2 separate regions of the Homo sapiens genome follow, and region 1 is linked to region 2. Evidence: promoter capture Hi-C in 16 types of primary human blood cells and fetal thymus (Javierre and others, 2016). All regions are on one chromosome and are shown on one strand. The core of a region is centred on a gene start or on the middle of the fragment in contact, and the rest is flanking DNA. Distances in the headings are between cores, read along the strand shown. Region 1 overlaps AGGF1 (angiogenic factor with G-patch and FHA domains 1). Region 2 holds the start of BTF3 (basic transcription factor 3).

Region 1 (2,961 bases), core at 1-2,500, 3.5 Mb before region 2:
TGTAACAGTGTTAGCATATCCTCACTATAAGCTAAATACCTGAGATTGACCAAGGAGCATGGTTCTCTGTTTGTACTTCTACATCAGACTTTTTATTATCTTCATTTCTCCCACGTTGGAGTATTTTACTGAGTTCTTCCACCTGAGAGAAAACAAGGCTTTAGGAAAAAGAAATCATGTAACAATCTAATAATATATATACCAGTCTCCTACCGTTACAAATAATTGTTTTAGAGAAATGTCAAGAGCAGCAAGTTTCCCTTTCAGAAAAGCTAAAATTATTATTTTACTTTATACATTTAAAAGGCATTTTTATTCCTAATCTCTCTTACTAAATGTCCAAATATCTCCTCCAAAAATCGAACTAAATAATGAGACTTTGTGAACAAGGTCCTTTATTTCTAACAAATAAGAATGCTTTTATGTTAACATTTTAAAGTCAGTTCTAAAGAATTCAAAAATTCAAAATTTACAAATTCTCATCCCTACTGGATTATCTAATACTCATTTGGTATTCTCCACTGGGAATTAACTATCCACCTGAATATGTTAATGCCACTTACAAGCTTTAATACATTTTTTCATTAAACAGTAGTCCTATAATTAAGTAACTGTAGCAGAAGAGAACAGGGAAGGTGACGGCCTGAGAGGGGCATCTGTCCTCCATGTACTTCACACACTAAAATACCCTTAAAAGGATGCTACTACATAGGACAGAGAGAAACAAGTGTGTGGAAGTGCCCAAAAGCAAGTAACATGCTGCCTCGGTCAATACGCTGCCTCAGTCAATACACCTCAGCCTGAGAGGACCTCAATGTGAGACAATGTCTACTACACACAAGAAACCAACTAAAAAACAAGCTTTTAAATATTTATTTAATGATACATAAAGCTTAAACAGAGAAAGGTGATAAAACTGATCTGTTGCTAATACTAGGGCAGGAACTACAGTGAGGGAAGCAAGACACTGATCGTGAAAAATCTGAGGCGCTCCTCTGATTCATGCAAGTACAGAGTTCATCGCTGGGAATTAGTGCCCCATTAAATTCCTCGCCCTAGGAGCCTGATTGCCTTGCCCTAAATCCTGGCTCTGGCTACTGTCCCTATCACTATGAATTAGATTACTTAGTATCTACTACATGCTGGGCACTATACTTGATGCTTTAGATAACATCTCATTAATTCACAAAACCACCTGAAATATTCGTTGTCCTAACCCCAATTTTACACATAAAATATCAGACAAGACAAAGTAATTTGCACAAGGCTATTTTGGGGTCTTGTACAAACCCTATACATATTATGGTTCTCCAGTTATCATTCTCAAGCAAAACTTTTTAACTGCTCCAAATAAAACACATTCAGTAATTTGGAATGACAGTTAATCGAATCCACCCTCTCCCCAACCAAGGGAGGCTGACTAGGAGAGTAAGGAGTTATCACTATTCAAAGTAGAGTCAAGACTTTCTATGAGATTAAATTTTTAATATTGGACTAAAATGGAGGCATGTGGAGGACAGATGATCCTCTCAGGCAATTACCTTCTGTTCGCTTCTGCTGCAGTTTAGTCACAGAACTACTATTTTTTTAAAGTGTATTAAAGCTTATAAGAGGCATTAACATTTAATAACTAAATCCACGTGAACATTGAATGATATTAGATAACATGAATGGGAATTGATAGCTCTTAAATTTTCTAATTCTTTAGGGAGAATTGCTGACCTCTCAAAATATTAGCATAAAAACATTCTTTTCTGTAAGAAATAAAGGATCTGTTCACAAAGTCCCATCATTTAGTCTGATTTATCAAATTAACAGTAACACCAAAATGCTGGCTCTCTGAAGATTAGCAAAAAACGTTTTCTTTTAGAATCTCTAACGCAAGCAGTACTTCAACAATTTAGAATTATAAAGGAGCTTTTCAAAAGGCTGTCATGTAAAAAAGGCTGTTATATTTTGCTCCCGTCTCCCCATTTTTTTTTTTTTTTTTTTTTTTGAGACGGAGTCTTGCTTTGTCGCCCAGGCTGGAGTGCAGTGGCGCAATCTCGGCTCACTGCAAGCTCCGCCTCCCGGGTTCACGCCATTCTCCTGCCTCAGCCTGTAGCTGGGACTACAGGCGCCCGCCACCACGCTCGGCTAATTTTTTTTGTATTTTTACTAGAGACAGGGTTTTACTGTGTTAGCCAGGATGGTCTCGATCTTCTGACCTCGTGATTCGCCCGCCTCGGCCTCCCAAAGTGCTAGGATTACAGGCGTGAGCCACCGCGCCCAGCCACCTCTCCCTGTTTTTTTTTTTTTTTTTTTTTTACCATATTTGTATTTTCCTAGCATAGTTATTACACACCGTAGGTGTTTAAATTGACTAAACAAAAACTTTCCAATAATGTCATGTCAGGAACTCCATGTAATGGTCATACAAAGTCATTGCAACTCAACAGTTATTTTCATAGTCCATTTGGTAACAAAACAAAGAAGTCTGATGACGTTTCAGTGTTCAGCCTATATACTGGTTTTAGGAAACCACCAATAAATTATGAAGGACTAGACAACGGTCAAATTGAAACTAGTTACTATGTGGAAATAATCTGTTGGCAGAGAGGGCCTGCCAACAAGGTAGAAAAAAATACTATGCTCTTGGTTTTTTGGTTTTTATTTTGAGACAGAGTTGCACTCTGTCGCCCTGGCTGGAGTGCAGTGGCACGATCTCGGCTCACTGCAACCTCCACCACCTAGGTTCAAGCAATTCTCCTGCCTCAGCCTCCCGACTAGCTGCGATTCCAGGTGCCCGCCGCCACGCCCGGCTAATTTTTGTATTTAGTAGAGACGCCCGGCTAAATTTTGTATTTCACCATGCTGGCCAGACTGCTCTCGAACTCCTGACCTGGTGATCTGCCCGCCTCGGCCTCCCAAAGTGCTGGGATTACAGGCGTGAGCTACCGCGTCCAGCCAAGGTTGTTTTTA
Region 2 (3,203 bases), core at 228-2,727:
ATACAAACTAGGTAGACCTCTGTCTACAGTGGACTTCTTATTAATTACAGGACAATCTAAAAATCAGCTTCAAAAAAGAATCCCCTTGATGTGAATCAGTATCCACCAGGAAAAAAACAATTAATCAAAAACTGATCATTTAAAAATCAGTCACTTTAATTCCCTCATTTTTACAGTAATACAAAGTCAGAACAGGAAAGATACCTACTTGGGTTATATTTTCAAATCTAATAGTCACTGCTCTTAAACTCCAAAATGTACCCGTATCTTCAAATACCCTTGAAATATGCAACTACCCTAAAGAATATTTAGTTCAGAAAGCAGTACAGAAAGGTCTCAATTTACAAGAGAGACAAACAAGCACTGACTTTAGAAAACTCAGGCCAAAACAAGTCAAGGGTATGATGTGCACAACGATCTAACTGAAATGACACATTTTCCTTACTAATTAAATTAGGAAACACTTTTGTGTTCTACTTACACTCTGTAACACTGAAAACACAAACATGTTTACACAAAGGCGATGTTTTTAGCTCGTCTCACTGATGTGTCTCCAACCCTCGTCTCCCCCGCTCCTCGAGATTTGCTAGCTCCGTGAATTTCCCTCGATAGGCAAAGTTTGTCACCGATAATATAAGAAGCGCAAAAGGAATATGTTTTTTAAAATACCTAAACCTTAAAAAAAAAACCCACAAACCCGAACTATTAAAACTTACTTTCCCACCAATGCGCACTTGTGCCTGCAGTTTGGCGAGTTTTTCCTGGTTCATGATTGTTTCTTTCATCTAGAAAAAGAGGAAATCCTCAGCAAGGATAGGTTTAGCTCACTCTAGCATTCCATGCTCGTTATTTCCCAAGATACCAGCAGGAAAATAAACGTCCTACACAGGCCGAAACCTGGATCCCAAATCCACCCCGCAAAGCTCCAAATTTGGGTTTCCAGGGAGCCCAAAGAGCACCCGCCTCCCCACCACTCCCCCACAGCTCCCCGCTCTTGGCAGGCCCGGATGAAAGGCTCTACCCCACGCCTGGCCAGCACCCCCCACCCCTGGCCCTGGCCTGGCCTCGGCCTAGCCAGGGCCTGCCCGGCCCGGCCACTCTCCGCAAGCCTCGCGGTACCTGAGGCTCCTGTCCTCGGGTTCCGCCGCGAGGTGGAGGTTGAGACAGCGTCGCCTCGCCCCCAGGGCAGCCGCCCCTGGCTCGACCTCGCCCCCGAGAGTCAGCCTGAGCGGGTGCGCCTGTCCGTCGCATCGCCTTCCTCTCCTCCTCTGCCCTGTCCCTCCCTGTCTCGCTCCTTCAGGGAACTTCCCGCCCCCGCTCCCGTCCTCCTACCACGCCGCCGTCCAGAGCCTTTTTGTACCTTGTCGGAGCGAATAAGGGGCCGCGCGGGGGACTAGGGTTGGTGCTCAAGGGGTCTCGGGTGGACCACCTGAGATTAGGCGCACACACGCGGGGACGCAAGATGGCAGCTAAAGGGAGGCCGGAAGTGACACAAGGCCACTTCCTTCAAGAGTCAGGAAACTGACTTCGCCGCGAACTCGGTTCCTCCCTGCGCACGCGCGACAGCGTTTGTGATGGTCCAGCGAGTCCCTATTCTCCTCCTCCTGCTCCAGCGGCTGCCGGCTGTAGGCCCTACGAGAGACTGCTGGCTTGGGGCGCAGCCCGTACCTCTGGGAGAGGCCACAAAGGGGTCGGAGAGCGCGGTCCTGTGCACAGTTAGGGTTAAGTCCGCTCAGTCTCCATTGGGCCCTGATCCTGAAGTTCTGTGCCCTCCGAAGAAAGGGCCTATTCACGTTTCCTGGAGACGCCGGAGGTGCCCAGCTTGTGCTCACCACTCAAGCAGCTCTCCCCTTGCTGGAGGTGTGGGTTGGAGAATTGCAGAATTTCCCTCTCGGCCCGAATGAGCCATTACCAAAGCATTTTGTCAAAAATAGTGAAGTTAGTTTGGCCTTCCAAGGTTAGGTGGTGTGGTAGATTGCGGGACCGAGGTTCAGAATTTCTGGGGGCTGTATCCCCGAGCCCCACTCCTCAGAATGCAACTCTGTACGACGAAGGAACTGGGTAATCCGCATTTCAGCCAATTTAGCAGATGACTAACCACCTTAAAACGGTCCACACAATTATCTTGTTTATCAGGCAAAAAAATTGACTCCTAGGTACCGAATTGGCATGGATTTGACAATTAGCGATTCACGGTTAAGCAGACTTTATCTATCTTAATCCAATCAAAGGAGAATTTCTGCCTGCTGTGTTTGGAGAGACAACGCGTGGATGTGAGTTAAACTTTGTTAAACCCAGGACAAGCTTTAAGATAAAACGACTGATATTTAAAATGGCAATTTAAATAAAAATGTTCTCTGATCAGCCTTTTTGTGGTCTTAACCATGAAATGTCTTTGCATATTCAAAAGTGAGTCCGAAATCTTAGAATGCAATGTGTGTAGCAAGAAAACTTGTTCAAGTGCAGACCCCTCTCCAGTTAAGATCAATGTTTAAACTTTTTGAATACTTTTTACATATAAGTTTGTTGCAACTGATGTCTCAAGAACATAACTGGTGAGGACAGCTGTATTGCCTTTTAGAATAATTGTTACAGTTATATTTACAAAAAACAATGTTGCTTCAGTTAAATATGAGTGAAGTTTTAGTACAGGTAAGGGTGTTTGTAGTTAGGCTTATGTGGGTTACCTTCCTAATGACAAAGGCCAAAATGGCAGTACCAACATTATGCTGTGCTCTGGAGATATTACAAAATATATAGAAAGACTCCCCCTTTTGGAAGAAATGTGTATCTTTGTCCAGGAACAGTTTTTTTCCTCTCCTCCATGTTATATTGGAGGCATTTGAAACTTCCTAGTCACGTGATGTTTTCTGAGCTTTTATAGAGACAAGATTGTATGTATGTAACCTGCCACCTTTTTTTTCTTTTTCTTTGCCTTCCCTCTCCTCTGCCCTTTTAATACACCTGTTTTCAGGAAATATTGTGAGCTACTTTTATTTATTTATTTATTTCTACTTTTTGAAACCAGGGATGCTGCTAATTTTATTTTTATAATTTTTTTAAAAAATATAAAACTTTAAAAAAATTAAAAGAGATGGGGTCTCACTTTGTTGCTTAGGCTGGGCTCAAACTCCTGCGCTCAAAGGATCCTTCAGTCTCAGCCACTTGAGAAGCTGAAACTACAGGTGTGCACCACTTTCCCT

Evidence for each region. The method cuts DNA at HindIII sites, captures the fragments that hold promoters and counts their contacts. A CHiCAGO score of 5 or more calls a contact.
Region 1: a contact is called between a fragment that was not itself captured here and the fragment with the promoter of BTF3 in region 2, in 1 of 17 cell types (activated CD4 T cells). The highest score is 5.1, in activated CD4 T cells.

What each region holds. Positions count from the first base shown.
Region 1 is chr5:77,031,599-77,034,559 of GRCh38, reverse strand. AGGF1 (angiogenic factor with G-patch and FHA domains 1) reads right to left here. Exons shown (of 14, transcript NM_018046.5): 2 at 40-142. Among named protein-coding and RNA genes, the nearest start is that of AGGF1, 2.7 kb to the right of the region's middle. The HindIII fragment of the contact is 711 bases long and covers 895-1,605 here.
Region 2 is chr5:73,496,716-73,499,918 of GRCh38, reverse strand. BTF3 (basic transcription factor 3) reads right to left here and starts at 1,477. Exons shown (of 6, transcript NM_001037637.2): 1 at 1,120-1,477; 2 at 717-785. The coding sequence starts at 1,251. BTF3-DT (BTF3 divergent transcript) reads left to right here and starts at 1,599. Exons shown (of 1, transcript NR_186388.1): 1 at 1,599-2,366. RefSeq lists a silencer at 993-1,042 and enhancers at 679-1,489, 1,253-1,552, 1,583-1,642. The HindIII fragment of the contact is 2,385 bases long and covers 1-2,306 here.